Linked DNA regions of Homo sapiens: all the other regions are linked to region 1. Evidence: promoter capture Hi-C in 16 types of primary human blood cells and fetal thymus (Javierre and others, 2016). All regions are on one chromosome and are shown on one strand. Each heading gives the region's core, a stretch centred on a gene start or on the middle of the fragment in contact. The rest is flanking DNA. Distances are from core to core; before and after follow the strand shown. Region 1 holds the start of DERL2 (derlin 2). Region 2 overlaps KIAA0753. Region 3 overlaps KIAA0753. Region 4 overlaps KIAA0753.

The links. Contacts are between HindIII fragments. The CHiCAGO score rates a contact against its expected background, and 5 or more counts as called.
Region 2: a fragment that was not itself captured here is called in contact with the fragment with the promoter of DERL2 in region 1 in 2 of 17 cell types (M1 macrophages and M2 macrophages); the score reaches 9.0 in M1 macrophages.
Region 3: a contact is called between a fragment that was not itself captured here and the fragment with the promoter of DERL2 in region 1, in 3 of 17 cell types (neutrophils, M2 macrophages and endothelial precursors). The highest score is 7.4, in neutrophils.
Region 4: a fragment that was not itself captured here is called in contact with the fragment with the promoter of DERL2 in region 1 in 1 of 17 cell types (M1 macrophages); the score reaches 5.1 in M1 macrophages.

What each region holds. Positions count from the first base shown.
Region 1 is chr17:5,484,794-5,487,534 of GRCh38, forward strand. DERL2 (derlin 2) reads right to left here and starts at 1,385. Exons shown (of 7, transcript NM_016041.5): 1 at 1,276-1,385; 2 at 358-423. The coding sequence starts at 1,368. MIS12 (MIS12 kinetochore complex component) reads left to right here and starts at 1,773. Exons shown (of 3, transcript NM_001258217.2): 1 at 1,773-1,891. RefSeq lists enhancers at 1,043-1,222, 1,263-1,322, 1,943-2,042, 2,283-2,392 and silencers at 1,493-1,652, 1,602-1,769. The HindIII fragment of the contact is 9,497 bases long and covers 1-2,741 here.
Region 2 is chr17:6,625,554-6,628,294 of GRCh38, forward strand. It overlaps KIAA0753, which reads right to left. Exons shown (of 19, transcript NM_014804.3): 3 at 2,564-2,741. Among named protein-coding and RNA genes, the nearest start is that of KIAA0753, 14 kb to the right of the region's middle. The HindIII fragment of the contact is 4,167 bases long and covers 1-2,741 here.
Region 3 is chr17:6,606,726-6,609,466 of GRCh38, forward strand. It overlaps KIAA0753, which reads right to left. Exons shown (of 19, transcript NM_014804.3): 10 at 1,623-1,739; 11 at 456-545; 12 at 148-237. Among named protein-coding and RNA genes, the nearest start is that of KIAA0753, 33 kb to the right of the region's middle. The HindIII fragment of the contact is 3,434 bases long and covers 1-2,741 here.
Region 4 is chr17:6,579,978-6,582,718 of GRCh38, forward strand. All of the region lies in intron 18 of KIAA0753, which reads right to left. Among named protein-coding and RNA genes, the nearest start is that of PITPNM3, 25 kb to the left of the region's middle. The HindIII fragment of the contact is 702 bases long and covers 976-1,677 here.

The DNA.
Region 1 (2,741 bases), core at 135-2,634:
GTCAGCCTCCTCTCATAGGACAACGTTAAGTCTAAACCAGTGATTTCCAAATACAGGAACTGGACACATCAAAACGATGCAGGGAACTTTAAAAATAAAACACAGATTTTAATTCCTACCCTTGCAAATTCTGATTTGGTACTTGTTGAGGAGCTTGAGAATCTCTTCAAAGTTCCCTAAGGGATTCTCAAGTCCAACCAGGCTGCAGAATCACTGCTTTATATCCTGACAAGGCAACTTATAATCAAAGGTCCCCACTGGGTTCTTTTTTAGGATAGTGTATAACAGGATTTGCTACTAAACAGTAAGAAAAAGAAGAAACTGAAGCATTAATCACTATTGTGATGAACCACTTACTTGAAAGTGTTTAAAGATTAATTCAGGATTGAAGTACAACTGAAAAGGTGTGATCAATTCCAACTGCTGAAATAGAAAAAGAGCTTCTTAAAGCAAATCAAGAAACAAAATTTCATCATTTACAACAAAGAATTAGTAGGTCTAGCAATTTCCAACTCTCGGTCACTTAGACGTGATTTCCTTTAAGCCTTTCTTCTTAGGCCAGAGGAAGAGGTTGGTAAAGAATTCTCTAGGATTGGTAGAATTCTTTGTATCCTCAATACCTAACACAAAAAAGTCTGTTTTATGTTGCAATAGTTGAGGCTGACATGAAGAAATGAGGCAGACAGGTGGTGATATTTTAGACACAGGACAAATAAAAACAGCTGCTATGAATCTACCCACCACATGGGCACCACCTGAAACAGCTGTATGAAACAACAAAACTCACTTGAAATAACGGAGACTGGAGACCCTGCCACCGTTAGGGCTGGGTACCTCCAGCTAGCCCCTTATTTAGATCCAGAGACCCTTTTTATTATAAGCCATTCCCCTCTCGACAGTTTCCAGCTTGCTTTCCCCATTCCTGTTTCTTCACTAAACGGACCTTCCTCTCACTAGTCACCATGGTACCACCTGGCCATTGGCAGAGCTCTCGGACACATTTCTTGGGTGGGAGGCTCCCGCAACCCTAACCCGCTATAGGTCCGGCGCTCATCTCTTAGAAACTGACCTGACCCCCCATGAAGCAGCACTCCCTTCTCGCGTCACTGGATAAGCATTCTTGGCGCCAACTCGAACCCCAGAGTAATCCCTGTACGCCTCCACCCATCCCCGGGACCAGCCCCTCTGGGCCTCCCCGAGGCCCAAACCCCAGTTTCCTGAAGACCCAGTCATATCCAGCCCAGATAATGAGAAGGTGGCACTGCAGCTGCTCACCACGGCGGCGGTGGTGAGGACGCAGGCAGTGGTGTAGGCGCGGCTGACCGGTGGGATCTGCAGGTACTCCAGCCGCAAGCTCTGGTACGCCATCTTCCCCACCGTCGCCTGCCCCACCCCCCACCCACCCCATTTCCCCTTCCGCCAGCAGGCCCCGGCGGCGGGGCGGGCCCAAAGGCCCCCCGCCCACTTTAGTTTTCCCGCGACTGCCCAATCAACGCCAAGCAACCGCAATCCGTAGAGACCTAAGGAACGCACATCCGCCAATCACGAGTTGCGTCGCCACCGCCCCCCCCCAGCGCCCCATCTCCCCACCCTCTCTTCTCCACCAGCCAACGTCCGGGAAAAACGAGTAAGTACAGGTTCCTTCTGCCAATCCCCGCCGGCCACAGCTAACTTTCCCGCCCGGCCCCTTTCTGTCATAATTGAGGTGTCCACAACCAGCCAATCAGGAACGCGAGAGTATCCCGCGTTTGCTTTCGCTCGCCGAGGCGCGTATCAGTCGGAATTTTGGGGAGCCAACCGCGCCGTCTGTCCCTGGCAAGCCAGCGGCGGTTTAAAGGAGGTGGCGGGAAGCCTGTGTGTGCTTCAAATCGTCACCCTCATGGTCGCTCCGGTAAGTGCTGCGGGGCAGCATTTTCTCTGAGGAGGAGCGGGGACGGGCGAGACTGGCATAAGCGTCTTCGCGAGGGAGCAAGGCGGCCTGTGGGTCGGCCTCACCCCGGCCTCCGACCTGAAGATCCCAGCATGCAGCGCGGGCGCGGGGCCCGACGGAAGCCGGGAGCCGGCCGGAAGCAGTTCCTGCGCTCTGGCTTCTGGGTCCTGTCCTGCGCGATCGCGGGGTCTTAGACAGCTCAACTCGCCGAGATGACCTGGGCACCTCTGCGTTGAATCGGCAAATACTGATCAAGCCGCATTTATTCTGCTCTCAGGAACTCTAAGTCTAGCAGAGAAGATGAGGCGGTAGAAGTTCATCAGTCAGTGCCCGAAGAGAGGTCCTAATGGGAATTCGAAGAAAGGAGTTAATCAAGGAAGTGTATTTTTTTGTTGTTGTTTGAGATGGCGCCCACCTGTAATCCCAGCTACTTGGGAGGCTGAGCTAAGAGGATCACTTGAACTTAGGAGGCAGAGGTTGTAGCGAGCCGAGATCATACCACTGTACTCCAGCCTGGGCGAAAGAGTGACACTTTGTCTCAAACAACAACAACAACAAGAAAATTAGCCAGGCATGGTGGCCTGCACCTGTTGTCCCGGCTACTTGGGAGACTGAGGTGGGAGGATTGCTTGGGCGCGGGAGGTTGAGGCTGCAGTGATCTGTGATCGTGCCACTGCATTCCAGCCTGGGCGACAGAGCGACAACATGTCTCAAAAGAAAAAAAGAAAAACAGAAAGAAATCCTACCTTACATATACAGCCAAACAGTTATAACCACTCCATATTTAACCATTACAAACGTAAATTTTTAT
Region 2 (2,741 bases), core at 125-2,624, 1.1 Mb after region 1:
CTACTCGGGAGGCTGAGGCAGGAGAACTGCTTGAACCCAGGAGGCGGAGGTTGCAGTGAGCTGAGATCGCACCACTACACTCCAGCCTGGGTGACAAAATGAGACTGTCTTAAAAAAGAGAAGAATTAAAAAAAAGAGAGAGAGACATTAAGATAGCATCTTATTGTAAACATTTTTTTCTTTTTCTTTCTGAGGCAGAGTCTCACACTGTCACCAGTCTCACACAGCAACCTCCACCTCCCGGGTCAAGTGATTCTCCTGCCTCAGCCTCCTGAGTAGCTGGGATTACAGGTCCACACCACCACACTCAACTAATTTTTGTATCTTTAGTAGAGACAAGGTTTTGGCCTGTTGGCCAGGCTGGTCTCAAACTCCTGGCCTCAAGTGATGCACCTGCCTCAGCCTCCAAAAGTGCTAGGATTACAGGTGTGAGCCACCATGCCCAGCCTTAATCTTGATTTCAAAAGACAAGTCTTTTCTCTAACATATTAAGATAGCAAGTCTCAAAATTATTTGAGTGTCTAGAGTCTTCATGTATTTCTCAGGAAGCATACCCTTGTACACACTGGTACTCTATATCTTGAAAAGATTGGTTCAAAGAAATTGTTTCTGGAAAACTGTTTGAAGAAGATGCAATCTATCTATTCCTTCCAGGCTGTGGTTTTCAAATACACTTATACAAACAAATTCTTATACGAAACTCCAATATACTCCAATTATCAAAGAAAAGGGAGTCTTCAATTAGTAAAAGTGTATTTTATAAGTTCAAATTTTTAATATTTACTCTTTAAAACATCAAACAATGCAAAGAGTATAAGGCTGTTTTGAAGAAAGCAAAAATCTGAAGTCAGGAGTTGTAGATACAGATGCAGTCTCAAGAGACCCTATATGTCTAATTACTTTCATCTCGTTTGGGCTGCATGGTAGGGGAAAATCCGGATTCACATACTTCTATGAACATAAATGGAACGGGCTTAGGTGGGGGGTTTGAAGGCTCACTGCAGATGATTCCCATGCAGCGCCTGCAGCTGTCTACAGAGCAGCACTGGGAAGCACAAATGGGCCTTCGGGGCTACTTCAAAGGGGGTCTGCAGCCAGGGGCCATCGCAAAATATTATTAATCCATGAAAGGTAAGTACAGAAATTTAAAGTATATGTTTACGTGTTTCCATAGCAGTTTGCCGCTACTGTGACATTTTTATTATAGTTCACAAAGTATTGACTTATGACACATTGAAAATTCATGTAAATAAAATAAACCAACCCAGTCCTTCCCCACAGAGACTTTGAAAGCTCTGTTCTAACAGTTCCCCGGTATTAGGCCAGATCACCAGAGCAGTGGGCCTTGTGGCTTTGTTCCCCTGGTCGCAGGGCTTCCAATCAAAGTAGGTAGGGGTCCATGCCACAGGCTGACACTAAGGAATATCAAGAGAAACAAGCCACAACATTTCTGTTATTTTTATGCTGGAATGGTTTTGAATTGTTCATGATATTATACAACACACTCTTTAAGAAGACCTACAGGAGAAATTTCTTTCTGGCCTTAATATGTGGAATAATTGTTTTCCTTACACAATTGTTTTTTTCTGTCTTAGACTTTGTAAATTCTCCAAGTGATTTGACGTTCCCTCTTTAGCTGGCTCCTAGGAAGCTCAGAAGCAAATCTGTGACTCATCCCTAGTAAATGTTTTTCCTTTCCTTATTGTTTCCTTTGCCACAATATCCTCATGTGCATTTTTGTTTTATCTTATTCAATCACAGGTATTTCTTAAGGTACCTTAAATTCTTTCATAAGATGCATATAGGTACATATGCATATATTAATTAAATTGAAAATGCAAAAAATAATTCTAGACTATGTACTACCCTAGTGCAACGGTTTCTTTTGATGCTCAACTCCATACCCCTTGCAATCTGAAAGCTGGGCTTGGTTCCCTACTTGTTAGTTACGGTAACCCCAAATTCTCCACGTGGAACCAGTCTTCTACTCAGCAGGGAAATACAAGGGCCCTGAGAACACTGCAGAACTGTAGAAAACCATATATGATGATTAAATTCCTTCCTTCCTACCCTGTGCTCACTTTACACATATACCCACAACTTCCCTTGTCACTGGTGTGTACTCACCTAAATACTGCCCAAGTGAGAACTGGTTTTACCTATAATATAAATACATTATGCTCTCTTTTCAAGCAAATTGAAAAATAATTTTCCCAGAAGAGGGAAAACATTATAGGATAATTTGCACTCAGGTCCCAGAAGACCTAAGGTTCAGCCAACATTAATGCCACCTCGTAGGCTGGGCCCTCAGTCAGTGGACATTTGAAGGGCAGCCACAGTGAAGAAGTTCTTTCATGTCCCTCCGCTGGAAAGAGGAGCTGGGGCAAGACACTGTTCAAACTCCAAGCCTAACTGTCTTGTCCTGAGTACTCACACTCCAGTGAACCAACTCACAGAAGGAAAGAATGAAATTGCTATAGGGGTTGAGGGTCCTCAAGGAATGCATTTAAACTACCCCATAATCACAGCCTTAGGTCGAAGTAAAGAATCTAATTTTTCTCACCTTTTTTAGTTACCTCTTCAATTTTGTGGATACAACTGCTCAGTTCTTTCTGGAGTCGCTGGACTTCTAGCAGGCTTTTCTGTTCACTTATGTTTTTGTGGTCACCTATCCTGGGATGAGGCTGAAGTCCCGGATCATGGGTGGGTGGCGAATTTGGCACAGTAAGATCTGACTGGCC
Region 3 (2,741 bases), core at 131-2,630, 1.1 Mb after region 1:
ATGGTATAATATACAGGTAGACATGCAGCTATTCATTCATTCATGTAATGAAGTTAGGCCTTAACAGTCCAGGTTGGTTGCTAGAACTATCTAGATCAATTAGAACAGGCAAACATCCACTATTCTTCCTAAGAAGCAAACACATACCTCAATTGTTGGAGTCTATACATTTCTTCAGCTTTGAGCTCATTCAGTTCCTTTGTTCTTCTAGAAGTTTCAGCATCAAGCCAATCAAGCCTAGAGAACAGTATCAAGAGTCACCCCAACTCTCCTCAAGGCAGAGTCAGGGCTCCCTTGAGCTCCAGTCTTGGCTCCCCCCTTGGCTTCTTAAGTGACTTCAGTCTTTTAAGGAGGCAGAAGTGTAGCTAGACCTAAATAATCTCTATTTATCATTAATGTATAGAGATGTAGAATAGGCCTGCTTACCTTTTCCTAACTCAGAAGCAAATATTTACCTCTGTTTTTGCATGCTGTCAATTTCCTTGGCTTTTAACTCTTCTAGTTCCTTCAATCTTTTGGAAGTTTCAGCATCAAGCCAAGCGAGCCTAGCAGACAGTCAAAAGAGTCAAACCAATTCTGCCTCGACACTGCAGGGTGTCATCATCACAGAAACAGACCAGAAATCAGGACCACTGCAGAGCAGAGCACCAATCCAGGCTCTATTAAGCTACTCAGTAGGTAACATAATCTCTCCGTACCCCTAAAGCTCTCTAGAACGTGTTCCATGTCAAAAAACATTAATGCACAACGCAATGAGAACCTGTCTCAAACGTTCTCAAGAAAACCAGCTATCACTCAGACTTGGGGTTTCTTATTAGACTCAAACAAAACCATTGCTATATCTTCAAGTTGAGACAAACAATGAGCCCCCAGGAGCCATATAGGCATGGTGAAGTCAAATAAAAACAAAAGGGAAAAGTTAACTGTGAACAACTCTGCTGTATGTAAAAGTGCTTTGATTCTTTTGGTTTAGGATATATGAATATTGTCAAATTATTTAATGGACCGCTTTCATTTTTGTTTTCCCATAACTGTAAGAATAATTTCAGCCAAATGAATACAGAGAAACCTGTTCTCACTGTTCTCTTCTTATGGAATGTTCTCACCTCATCTCCCATATTGAAATCCTGCCTGTTCTTCAGGTCCTAGTTTAATTTCCATCCATGAAGCCTAGACCTCTGCAGCCAGAAGTAACCCTCCCCCGTTTCTAAACTCTCTCAGTTCCTAGGTTACATACCGTGTTCTATCTTAAATTATAGTTAATTACATAACTTCTCTATTGACTATAAATAAGCAAGGGCTGGGATTATGGCCTATTTGCCCTTTTTAAAGTCTCCATAGAGCTCATAACACTGTCACATACAAAACTAGCAAGTGATATATAATTGACACATATATAATTTATGAATGAATAAGAAAAAATAGAAGAGCTCACTATAAGCTATATAGTTTGACTGAAACGTTTAATAAACTACATTTTATGTATTTATTCTATTTTTAAAAATAATCTACATTTTAAATAACCAACTTTAAATGTAGGAAAGAGAAGAAAGGGTTCACTTCCAAGTCTATGTAAAAGGAGCTCTTTAATTCTCAAAGATCTGAAAAATACCAGCACAAACCTGGCTGCTTCATGCTCAACAGCACCTGTCAGGTGACTTTCCTCTTGAGGATCTTCTTGCTGGAGAGGCTCTTTTGTGGCATCTCTGGGGCTAGTTTTCACCTTTAGCCATGCAGCACTGAAATAAATGGAAAAGCATACCTTTGTCATCATTCACTCCGTATCCAATGACTCATCCAAGTAGGTGCCAGCTCAGAGATGACAACAGCATTAAATTAATGGTGATCTGTAGCACGGGGCCCTACAGTAGAAGCTGAATGTGAAGAAAAGTGAGATCCTCCCGCACTCAGGCACAGTGTCAAAGGGCAGAAATTCTCCTTTGCTTCAAAGAAGCCATCACCATTTTAAATGAGAAACAGTGATCAATTACAGAATATTGGGTGAGTGTCAACAAAACTCTGTCACAATACATAGATTTGGATCACTAATTACATTCCATATTATAAGGCAACTCCGTATCTTTATAAGGCCTAACAGCACTGTTGAGCCTAGAAGCCTCACCCACCCTCCTCTACCCACCACACATGCACTCTAAAAGACAGTCCATTGTATATTTGGTTTGTAATACAAACTTCAACCACTGAGCTTATCAACTGAATGTAAATCTCCATATTAATACTTGTATACAAAAATACAGAAAACAGAATAGAGTAATAAAAACAAAAAAAGCACATTATGAAGTCAGAAGACCTGATTTTAGGTCTGGCTGTTACATGAATAAGACATTAAATTCTCTAAACATTGTTTCCTTAACTTGAAAATGAGAGTGGATGGATGAGCACGGCCATTCCTTCACACTCATTCGGAATCTTAGGGGGCTTCTCTTCCACCAAGCTGCTCACCCTGACTTCTGATGGCTCCAAAGACAGAACCCTGTAGTCACCTATCTTCTCCCTTCTCCCCTGACATGACTGCTTTTTACTTCTTTCCTTTTTCTGTTCCACCTCCTGGTCCTTTCCATTGTGTTTTCAAAAACTACTGCCTCACGGCAAACGAGCTCCCCTTTATCTTCAACCGATTCCCCTAAAGATTATTTCCACCTAACTGGACCCTGCTCCTCTTCTCTCTAGCCCTGTGAAATGGCAGCTTCTCATTCTAATGTGCTATGAGTGAGGATGAC
Region 4 (2,741 bases), core at 77-2,576, 1.1 Mb after region 1:
TTTGAGACCAGCCTGGCCAACATGGTGAAACCCGGTCTCTACTAAAAATACATAAAATTAGCCGGGCGTGGTGGCATGCACACCTATAAACCCTGTTACTCAGGAGGCTGAGGCAGGAGAATCGCTTGAACCTGGGAGGTGGAGATTGCAGTGAGCAGAGATCACACCACTGCACTCCAGCCTGGGCAACAGAGTGAGATTCCGTCTCAAAATAAATAAAATAAAATAAAGGTATGTACAGCCATATATGGGAGCCATTCTTTTACTCAGCTGTGGAAATTAACAAGTCAATTCTGAAATCTAAATGGAAATTCAGAAGGCCAAGAACAGCCAAGATACTTTTTTTTTTTTTTTTGAGACGGAGTCTCGCTCTGTTGCCCAGGCTGGAGTGCAGTGGCACCATCTCGGCTCACTGCAAGCTCCGCCTCCCGGGTTCACACCATTCTCCTGCCTCAGCCTCCTGAGTAGCTGGGACTACAGGAGCCCGCCACCACGCCTGGCTAATTTTTTGTATTTTTTTAGTAGAGATGGGGTTTCACCATGTTAGCCAGGATGGTCTCAATCTCCTGACCTCGTGATCCGCCTGCCTTGGCCTCCCAAAGTGCTGGGATTACAGGCATGAGCCACTGTGCCCGGCCAAGATACTTTTGAAGAAGAAAAACAAGGTGAGAGGCCCTGCTCTCCTAGACAGAAGGATGGTGGTGCTTAGATCCCAAAGTCCTGCTAGAGGGACAGGCCTAAAACATACACAGGATGGACTTCATCCTCAATGTGTTTGAAACCAGAGGCGACCAGAAACTAACCAGCTGCAACCTAGCCCCACCTCTAACAGCTGCCTGACCGGCCGACGGAGGAAGGGGTGTGCCTTCTCTGTAGGAGACGGGGGAGGACACTAGGGGACTCTGCACGGGTGCTCCTCTGTACACACACACACACACACACACACACACACACCTTCATTTTCTGAACGGCGCAAGCTTCGTATCTCCCAAGTAGCCCTACAAACAAGGACATTCTCTTAAATAACTATGGTACAATTATAACAATTATAAAATTAACATTGATACAAAACTAGTATCTATTCTACAGGCCTATCTATCTACAGGCCTTATTCAAATTTTGCCAACCATCCAAATAATTTCCTTCAAAAGAAATTTTTTGCTAGTCCAAGGTTCCAGTCTGGGATTCCATGTCGCATTTTGTTGTCACAGCTCTTTAGTCTACTGTAATCTAATAGTCCTTCAGTCTTTCTTTGCCTCTCATGACCTTAACATTTTTTAAAGAATAAAAGCCTTTTTTTGGGGGGGTGGGGAGAATATCCCTCAATTTGGGTTTTTTCCTTATGATCAGATTCAGGACATACGGTTTTGAAAGAGATGCCACAGAAGGATAGTGTGTCCCTTCAGTGCACCATGATATCTATTTGATATCCATTAATGATGTCAGTTAATTTTGCATCACTGGGTTACGGTGATGTCTGCCAGGTTTCTCCCTTGTAAAGTTACTGTTTTCCCCTTTGTAATTAATAGGTATAGTGGAGGGAGATACTTTGAGACTATGTAAACTCCTGTTTCTCATGAAATTCGCCTAAATCAATTATTACAGGGTTGCCAAACACGGATTTTCTACTTCCATCACTTCTTCTCCATTTAATAGCTGGCATTCTACTGTAATGAAAGCTTTCCCTTGTCTTTTACTTATGTATTCATTCCTATCAGTTTGGCCTTATAGATTTTTATTTTATTGTATAGTTTGTAATCCATTACTATTATTACATATTTCGATGCTTGAAAATGTCCTGGATTTGGCCCGTAGGTGCCTCTTGGGAACTCCTGTGAACTCTCGACATGTCCCCATCTTTCTTTGAGCACTTCCTTTCTAGCACAGTATGTCTGAGGCTTATCTTACATTTTTCCAGCCCCAGGCTTATAGTCAGCCATTCTTCCAAGAAGCCCTCGTGCCTCTTCATCTGGTGCCTCTTCATGGAGAACGGTATTTAGAAACCAAGATGTGGGTACTGGGTGTGCTCACTGCTACTGGCACCTCTGCTTCTGGGCCTTCTCAGCAGACAAACTAAGAAACACCCTGTATCTATTTCTACGTCTATAAAAAACCATATATTCATCCCAGCCTTCCCCTAGAAACCTTGCTCCCATTATTCACAATGTACTTACTTATTTGACCAATCCTAAAATATAGAGAAAATAGTTTTCAACTGTTAACCCATGTCACTGTATAAAAGAAACCTACAAACTAGAATCCAGTTATGTGTTTACAGTTCTTTTTGTCTTTAGCCAGAGGTAAAGAGTCAACATACTGTGTTCAAAAGTTATTTAGGCTTCATGCCGTTAATATGATTATATTATTTATTTGAAATACAGTTAAGTTCATGTTTCTGTTTGTATTCGACTTAAGGCCCCCGCCCCATCCCTGTTGACTAAGGGGATGTATAAGAAACATTAACATGGTTTCAAAAGTCAGAGTTACACAAAAATGGTAAATGCAGATAAGTTTCACTCCCCCTCTCCTATTCCTTCTACCCCATTCCCACCCAGTTTTTGTTTTTTCGCTAATCTGACAATCTTTTGTCTTTTAATTGGCATGTAAGGTCCTTTTTCATTTAATGTTATTCTGATTTGAGTTTATGCTTCTAAAATAATAGGCATTTTCTATATTTGTCTCTTTGTTCTCTCTTCTTTCTTGGTTTCCTTTAGATTTTGTAATTTTTAAACTACATTTGC